2 separate regions of the Homo sapiens genome follow, and region 2 is linked to region 1. The links are contacts of gene promoters, found by promoter capture Hi-C in human tissues and cell types (Jung and others, 2019). All regions are on one chromosome and are shown on one strand. Each heading gives the region's core, a stretch centred on a gene start or on the middle of the fragment in contact. The rest is flanking DNA. Distances are from core to core; before and after follow the strand shown. Region 1 holds the start of MASP1 (MBL associated serine protease 1). Region 2 has its middle 3.5 kb from the start of ADIPOQ.

Region 1 (4,448 bases), core at 1,513-4,012:
TTGCGTTAGGGGCTGTAAATTGAAGAATATAAGTGGCAGCTTTCATTCCTCGTCACACTCTCTGAATGTTTTTGGCTTCTTGTATACGAGGCACCGGCTGTATAGTTCCCAACACCTGCTATCTATCCTCCGGCTAATCAAAAAGTTTAGCTACATTGCAGAAATGTCAAAAGTAATATATAGAGCTGAGATTTCAGAGGCCCCCCGTAGGAACAGGCTAGCAGGACTCTGTAAAAATGCCTGCATATATCTATGATTGCGGCATGAACGGCACTTGCTATCTTTTCCATACACTGTCCGTACACGCCCCTTGTTTCAACCCACTCCACACCAAGACTCCATTTTTGAATTGAAGAGTTGGAAGGGACTGCATGGATCCTTTACAGAGCACCCTAATTTGACAGACGATGAAAAGGATACCCCAAGAGATGTCACATCATGCTCAATACCATATGGTGAATTAACTTCAACAGAAGAAGGGAATAAAAAGAGCTCACAGAAGAAGCTGGGTCCATGCCCATATCATGCCCAGGCATCTGGCCAAAGCAATTAATCCTGTGAAAAATAATTGAAAAACCCATGGCTTTACGTAAAAAATTTAAAAATATTAATGCCAAAGTCCCTCCTCAGGAGGTTCTGGTTTAATTGCTCTGGGGTGAGGCCTGAGCACTGGCATGTTTCAAGGCAGCACAGATCATTCCGACGTACAGTCAGAATTATGAGCCGTCAGTTTAGAATAATACACTTGGCTGAAAGTCTAGTGGAATATAGTAGAAAAAATCCTGAACTTGGAGCCCGAAGACCCAAATTTGAATCTGGACCTTTTCATGATCATCAGTGTGGTTTGGGCAAGTTGCTTAACTGCTTTTATACCCACTACTTATCCATAAATCCTTACTTCATCCAGAATCTGAAACCCCCATGAGACAGTGCTCTTGAAAGTGCTCTGCAAACACTGAAATACTGTATCCATGTGAGACAAGACCTGCTGGAGACTTTTCTAGCAGAGCACCTTTCTCGTAGTTGCTTGGCTATTCAAAAATTGAATTCAATTCAACAAATAGGTATTGAATGGCTGGTAGGAAATAGACATTATGCTAGGTGCTGGCCATACAAAGATGAAGACATAGATCATGTAACTTAAGGAGTGCTGAGACTTGTAAGGGGAGGTGGACATTTAAACAAGGGGATACTACAAGGACAATAAGAGATGCAGCTTCAAGGGACAGAAACAGAACAAAGGACAAAGGAGGGGATGCTCACTCTGGAATATGGTGGTCAGGAGAGAGAAAGAGATATTTGTGCCAGCTTGAACAATCAGGTCTTCTAGGTGGAAAATAAAGAAGAAGGTTGCTCCAGGTTGAGGGATGAGCATATGCAAAGATACAGAATTGTTACTCAGCCAAGTAGTTTGATATGGGCTGGGGCACTGAATGGTAGGGTGGGATTCAGACCAGATCATTGACAGATAAATGAGATTATCATTCAATGTAGATTGACATAAATCACTTTTTTTTGGAGAAAGAAAAATGATGTTTAATGGCAGGTTTAAAATTACTATGGCTTTAAGAAGAACAGAATTATTGCACTCACTTTTTAAGGACCTGGTTATCTCTCTGAACCACAGGTAATCGGAGTTCAAAGAGTTAACATAGTCTGAAGCCTCTCATTGGTCTCAGGTCCAGAAAAGTTGCTAGGTTACTTTGCAGAAGAGAAACAAATAAAAACACTTTCCCAAGTGAAAAGAAAATTAATAGTAAAAGATGTGTTTAGGGACTTACACATCTGCAGAGCATTGTGTGTGTGTGTGTGTGTGTGTGTGTGTGTAACAGCATTAACACTTAACTAATAAAAATAACTAGGGTGGTTGGGTTTTCAGACTTGCAGGATAGAACTTGTATGAAAGGTCTGGTAAGGAGTGTCAAGTATAATGAGGAATAAGAAAGGTTAAAGAGTTTAAAACCAATTAGAATTTGAAGTTCTTGATTTCAGAACTCTAAAATCCTTTTTTTTTTTTTAAGTATGATATCTCTTTAAGAGCCATTTGGTGTACTTCATAGCCTGATTCATGCCACCAGCTGCCTCTGATTTCAATGAGAAATGCAGAAAATTTATAGGGAACTGTAAAATGGGGACAGATTTTTAGTTTTCTAAATTGAGGTTTAACTGGCAAACTTGTAAAGGTTGAAGAAACCACAGAGCCAAGCTATGGGAAGCTGGTTTCTTTTCTGGTCAGAAGGAATGAACACACAAACACATATCTAACTCACAAAGTGCTGGAAGAGAGAAAGCAATGCTCTTTCCAGAGGAGGAACACGGAAAAATCAGCCTTGTGGGTGAACAGGAGGAGAGTCACATTCGCCAGCAGGCAGCACCCTGTGCAGGCAGTGGGAGAAATCTGAGCTTCAGCAGCGTCCGGAGCAGGATTTGCACGAAGTCTCCCGTTTCAAGTTTTATGTCTCCTGGAGTCCTGGGGAAGGCACCCAGCCCACCCACAGCTCCCTTCTCAGAGCCCTAAGAATTGATGAGAAAGCCCCTCACTACCACATGCAGGACACGCAGGTGAGTCTGTCAGTGACAAGGTCAGACCTTCCCTGCTATTTGACACTGGTCCCCAAAAGGGAACCGTGCCCTCTCCTCCCCTGGCACGTACCTCATTTTCCTGCCTTGGGTGCTCCCGGCTGCCCGGCCTTGGTCCTCCCAGCTTGACTTGCCTGTGAGCTCGTGCCCGGTGTGGTGTCCGTGATGCCTTATCTTTGTTCTGAGGTCCCTGTGTGTCTCTGGAATTGGCTGGCATTCTCCATTCAGGTCACGCCTTCCCCTGCCTGCAACAGATCCCCTCTCCCCCTCTCTCCCTCTGGCTTTTCCTCTCTCCTCTCTCTCTCCTTTGACTTGCTCTTGCACTCCCAGGAACCTGACAACAAAATCTGTCTTCCTACCGAAAAGATCTGCTCCTTCCCTTCCCTCCTTTATCCTGTGTGGCTGACTTCAGCCCTTGAGAGAAAATAACTGAGGGGCTCAAGCAGGTATTTGTATCACTCTGTGTGTGTGTGTGTGTGTGTGTGTGTGTGTGTAGAGAGAGAGAGAGAGAGAGAGTGAAAGGGGACAAAGTCTAATTTCTCTTTAGTCTTTTTTGCCAGATGACTATAATTTTCTGCTTTTCTTCAGGACACCCATGAAAGAAAAGCAATTAAATAGAAACAACCAACTAAGAAGGCAATTCTAGCACCTACACTAGAAGAAAAAAAAAAGGTCTAAATCCCAGAGCGTCTGTCTGCAAATAACTACAGGTTTCCTTGTGAGCAGAGCCCCAAATAACTACAGGTTTTCTCGTGATCAGAGTCACACACAACGACAGGTTTTCCTGTGAACAGAGCCACGGGCCCGGAACTGGGGAAGCACCAAGTCCTGAAGTTGGCTGGTTGTTCCTCCCCATGAGCAATACCTGTGGCACTGTTTACTTGCTCGGAGTGTGTGCGGCTCTACTCCAGCCCAGAAAGGGCCCATCGCAGCAAGAAATCTCACCTCCCCAGGGGTGTAGAAAGACCTGGGCCTGTATATATGTCTATACCCATGGCTTCCGGAGAAATCAACACTAGATCTAAGATGAGCTGAATAATAAGAAAATTACCCCCTCCACAACAACAACAACCAACACTGAATAGGGAGAGGTGTATCTGGGTGTAAAAGTTAAGTTTGACTGTGCACCTTTTCTGTGTTAGACACAGTACTAGTCATTAACATCATCTCAAGTTACTTTTGCAAACTGGTGAAAGTGCTGCTGTTATACTCATTTTACAAGTGAGGACACTAAGGCTCAGAGAGAATATGCCACTTGCCAAGATCATCCAGTTATTTATGACTCCCCACTGCCACTAGCACTAGAAGCTAACAGCTATTGAGTGCTACGTGTCAGGCACTGCTCTAAGCACTTAATATATGAATTCTTTTCAGTCATCTTTATATGTTGTATACATGGCTGGCAATATTCTCATTTTTCAGAGGAAATTGCCCAGAGAGGTTAAGTAACTTTCCCAAGTTCACACAGCTAGAAAGTAATAGAGGCAGAATTTGAAGTGTTAGCCACTGTATTACACTGCTACTCATTAACATTTTATAATGCATATGGAATTTCAAATGCACACACACAGACGGCATTCATAGAGAAACTCAATCTGAGTCATTTTGAAAAGAAGATTAGACTCAGAGTTTAGCTGTAATCTTTCCTTTCTACCCAAGACAGCTGTGTACTTTGGGCACAATACTTAAGGTATCTGATTCTGTGTCTTCATTTGGAAAATGGGAGTTACTATGAGGCTTAAATAAGACTGTGCTTGTAGAAGTGTCCAGGGGAGTACCAGAGAGAGGGCTGCCAGCCACACTCACCAAAGCGGCAGACACATGCACTGTCTACCCTCAGATAACGTTCCTTTGGCACGTTCTGGGGA
Region 2 (4,984 bases), core at 148-2,647, 450 kb before region 1:
AGTTTCACTCTGTCGCCCAGGCTGGAGTGCAGTGGCGTGATCTCGGCTCACTGCAACCTCCGCCTCCCAGGTTCAAGCAATTCTCCTGCCTCAGCCTCCCAAGTAGCTGGGATTACAGGCATGCACCACCACACCTGGGTAGTTTTTCTATTTTTAGTAGAGACAGAGTTTCACCATGTTGGCCAGGCTGGTCTCGAACTCCCGGCCTCAGGTGATTTGCCCGCCATGGCCTCCCAAAGTGATGGGATTACAGGCATGTGCCACCGAGCCTGGCTATATGGACATAGTTTTTAGTTCTTTGGGATAAATGCCCAGAAGTGTTACTGCTATTTAATCTTTAAAGAAACTGCCAAACTACTTTTCAGAGTGGCTGCATTATTTTCCATTCCCACCAGCAAAGTATGAGTAATCTATTTTTACGCATTCTTTCCCAAATTTAGTATTTTCACTTTTTTTTTTTTTTTTTTTTTTTTTTTTTTTTTTTTTTTTTTGAGGCAGGGTCTTGCTCAGTTGCCTAGGCTGGAGTGTAGTGGCACTATCTCGGCTCACTGCAACCCCTGCCTCCCAGGCTTAAGCGATCCTCACATCTCAGCAACCTGAGTAGCTGGGGCTACAGGTGAGTGCTACCACTCATGGGTAATTTTTTTTGTATTCTTAGTAGAGGTGGAGTTCCGCCATGTTGCCCAGGCTGGTCTCAAACTCCTGACCTCAAGCGATCCACCTGCCTCTGCCTCCCAAAGTGCTGGGGTTACAGGCGTGCACCACTGTGCCTGGCCATTCTCACTATTTTTAATTCAAAATAGTTTGTGTTCTCTATTCTCCACATCTTTTTGTTCTTTTTAATCATCTAAAGTCCATAGTTTGTATTAGGATTAACTTACTGTTGTACATTCTCTCTCTCTCTCTCTTTTTTTTTTAATGAGATGGAGTTTCTCTCTTTTTTGCCCAGGCCAAGCGCAATGGCACAATCTCGGCTCACTACAACCTTTGCCTCCTGGGTTCAAGTGATTCTCCTGCCTCAGCCTCCCAAGTAGCTGGGATTACAAGTGCGTGCCACCACACCTGGCCAATTTTGTATTTTTAGTAGAGATGGGGTTTCACCATGTTGGCCGGGCTGGTCTCCAACTCCTGACCTCAGCTGATCTGCCTGCCTCAGCCTCCCAAAGTGCTGTAATTATAGGCATAAGCCACTGTGCCTGGCCTAGTGTTGTACATTCTGTGGGTTTTGACAATTGTATGCATCTACATGTATGTACCATTATAGTATTCCTGTTTTTAATTTTAGCCATTCTAGTAGGCATGTAGTGATATCTCATGGTGATTTTAATTTGCGTTTCCGTAATGGTTAATAATGCTGAACATCTTTGCATGTGCTTGTTTGTCATTTGTGTTTCCTACTTGGTGAAATAATTGTTCATGTCCTTTGTCCATTTTCTAATTGAATTTTTTTTTACCATTTAGTTTTGAGATTTCTTTATACAATCTAGATCCAAATCTCTTGTCTCAAATATGGTTTGCAAATACATTCCTCTAATTCATATATTGCCTTTTCCTCCTCTTAACAGGATGTTTCACAGAGCAAAAGTTTTAGTTTTGTTGAAATCTCACTTTTCATTTTTTTCTTTAGTGGATTGTGCTTTTGTTGTCATATGTAAGAACTCTTCACTGGCCCTAGATCCTTGTATTGGTTTCCTAAGATTGCCATAGCAAATCACCATGAACTTAGTGACAAAAAGACAGAAATTTATTTTCACTTCCTACTGTGGGCAGACTAGACGTTAATTATTTTCATGTATGCTCATTCCTATGACATCTTTCTGATATAATAATTATAGTTATTCTTAAGCTTCACCCTTTTTTCTATTAGCTTTGTTACCTTGGGTGTCACTTTTTCTTTTTTGACATTGTGACCTATGCCAGATCATGTCTGTTAGTACTTAGCCCTCCATTCACCTCTCCATAATCCCTTTTGTATTCCTGGAGCTTGATGCCTGAAATGACACATCCTACATTCCTTTGCCAGATGGGTACCAGTTAGCTTGTGCACATGGGAGACAACCGTGAAAAGACTGAAGTGGGGAAGAAGGGAGGAGCTGTTGTGTTTCAGTGAGCGCCCTTGGCAGTGGCGGTGACAGTGGCTCCTGTTCAGTGGCAATGGTGGAGCAGCTAGCAAGACATGCAGTAAGCGCAGGCTCATAGGCTATGGTCCAGGAGCAGTCACCGATTCCTGGTCTTTAGGCAATATCATCTCCCTTTGCTTCTCCAGCCTTTCTAAAATTATTGTACCTTGACTAGTACAATTTTTTAGTATTGGGGGTAGTCCAAGGACACAGGCTTTAAAAAGTATGAATTCAGGGTTGCCTACCTGCATTGACTGCGCTTGAATCATGATGGCCTTCTGGTCGGTGGCAGGAGGTGACAGTCCAAATCATGCAGTAGCAAACCAGATACTTAAATTATCATCTGAGATACTTCAGAAGTACAGCCGTAGCCATACCTTCAGAAGAGATAAAGAAATGTTCTCCTGGCCAGGCGCGGTGGCTCACGCCTGTCATTCCAGCACTTTGGGAGGCCGAGGGGGTGGATCACCTGAGGTCGGGAGTTCGAGACCAGCCTGACCAACATGGGGAAACCCTGTCTCTACTAAAAATACAAAATTAGCGGGGCGTGGTGGCACATGCCCATAATCCCAGCTACTCGGGAGGCTAAGGCAGGATAATCGCTTGAACCTGAGAGGCAGAGGTTGCGGTGAACTGAGATCATGCCATAGTACTCCAGCCTGGGCAACAAGAGTGAAACTCCATCTCAAAAAAAAAAAAAAAGAAAAAAAGATAAAGAAATGTTCTCCTTTCTTGCCATTTCTAGGGGTTTGGGGATGGCGTACATTGCTGCAGGGCGTGCTCACTCTACCATCTTGCTCCAATCTTTATTTTTCAAAATACAGTGCTTATGCTTGGTTACTTCAGTTAAGATTATTTTTAAAAATCATAATTAAGCAAAAATATATGGCCATGCTTAAACATATTTAAGATAAATTAAGTGATTTGGCCTGTTTCAGTATCCCAACTCACATGCTAACAGGGGCTTGACCTGTAGCTACGGTACCCTGGAGGAAATGATCGCATTTATTTGGTTATTTCGGTCTAAGTAGTAATAGTTCTGTCCTGGGAAAAAGACTAGCCTCAAGGCATTTCTGATTGAATGTTTTTCAATTACAGTCTTTAAACCAGTATGCCACAGAACTGGCTCTTTCCACATGACGGCCTTTGTGGTGGGTGGCAGATTGCCCTGAGGCCTCGCAAAATGCTAGGCTTTCACAATGTCACTGACTGACAGCCAGGCCCAGCACAGTCTTGGTGTGATTGTGGGGCTAAAGTTATTCCACCTTGTGCAATAGCTACAGCTTTCTCTAACCAGCTGCATTCTTATAAAGTTAGAAGAAAATACTTTTTTTTTTTTGAGATGGATTCTCGCTCTGTTGCCCAGGCTGGAGTGCAATGGTGCGATCTCGGCTCGCTGCAACCTCCGCCTCCTGGGTTCAAACGATTCTCCTCCCTCAGACCCCCGAGTAGCTGGGATTGCAGGTGCCTGCCACCACGCCCGGCTAACTTTTTTGTATTTTTAGTGGAGACGGGGTTTCACCATCTTCGTCAGGCTGGTCTCAGACTCCTGACCTCAAGTGATCTGCCCGCCTCAGCCTCCCAAAATGCTGGGATTACAGGCATGAGCTACTGTGCCCGGCCAAAGAAAATACTTTTTATGCCAGCCCTGAAACTACCCTGAAGCACATACATCAACCTTGAGGCCTCACACTCCATCAAGAGGGGTGAAGGGCATGAGGAATTAGAAAGCATAGGGATTTTTAGTTAGACAGATCTGGTTCAAATCCTAGACTTGTGCCTTGAACAAATTATTTACCCTCATTGAACTCTAGATTCATTATTTGTAAAATGAAAGACAATAATAGTTATCTCCAAAGGAAAGTTGAATATGATCATTCATTTATTCATTAATTCAACATTTATTATTGCCTACTTTGTGCCAGGTTCTATTCTAGGAACTAAGGGATACAACTTTGAATAGGCAAAATCTCTGCTCTCCTGAAGTTTACTTTTTTTTTTTTTTTTGAGACAGAGTTTCACTCTTGTCACCCAGGCTAGAGCGCAATGGTGCTCTTGGCTCACTGCAACCTCCACCTCCTGGGTTCAAGTGATTCTCTTGTCTCAGCCTCCCAAGTAGCTGGGACTACAGGTATGTGCCACCACGCCCGGCTATTTCTGCATTTTTAGTAGAGATGGGGTTTCACCATGTTGGCCAGACTGGTCTCAAACTCCTGATCTCAGGTGATATGCCTGTCTTGGCCTTCCAAAGTACTGGGATTACAGGCCTGAGCCACTGCACCTGACCTGAAGTTTATGTTCTATTAAATAGCAACAGACAGTAACATAAACCAAAAATAAATAGGAAAACACCATAACAAAAATCAAACAGTGATATAATTGAGAGTTGCTTCTATTTCTTTTTGTTGTCTTCTTGGTTCAATCAGCCTGCTAAACTATATGGAACCTCATTTTCATGGGCCACTTATTTAAGCCGGGGGACCTTGGAAAGTCTCTCATGTCTCTCATCTCAACGGCCTAATGTGACTTCTCTTGAAATATTTGGACATTAGCAGGAAGCTGAGGCTTTACATCAGATCTTTACTTTAATGGTGGACTTGACTTTACTGGTAGATTTTTAGGCTCTGTGTGGACTGTGGAGATGATATCTGGGGGGCAGGCAGACACTTGCCCTGCCTCTGTCTGAGAAAATTCTGTTTTGGATGTCTTGTTGAAGTTGGTGCTGGCATCCTAAGCCCTTGCTGGGGTCGTAATTTAATTCATCAGAATGTGTGGCTTGCAAGAACCGGCTCAGATCCTGCCCTTCAAAAACAAAACATGAGCGTGCCAAGAAAGTCCAAGGTGTTGAATGTTGCCACTTCAAG

What was found. Contacts are between HindIII fragments. The study calls those that stand out against the background at their distance.
Region 2: a fragment that was not itself captured here is called in contact with the fragment with the promoter of MASP1 in region 1 in 1 of the 25 tissues and cell types used here (mesendoderm cells).

Annotation. Positions count from the first base shown.
Region 1 is chr3:187,288,975-187,293,422 of GRCh38, forward strand. It overlaps MASP1 (MBL associated serine protease 1), which reads right to left and starts at 2,763. Exons shown (of 11, transcript NM_139125.4): 1 at 2,654-2,763. The coding sequence starts at 2,658. It overlaps LOC101929130 (a long non-coding RNA gene), which reads left to right and starts at 2,298. Exons shown (of 2, transcript NR_135551.1): 1 at 2,298-2,562. The HindIII fragment of the contact is 8,732 bases long and covers 1-4,448 here.
Region 2 is chr3:186,836,764-186,841,747 of GRCh38, forward strand. No RefSeq gene overlaps it. Among named protein-coding and RNA genes, the nearest start is that of ADIPOQ, 3.5 kb to the right of the region's middle. RefSeq lists an enhancer at 3,247-3,404. The HindIII fragment of the contact is 4,323 bases long and covers 1-3,559 here.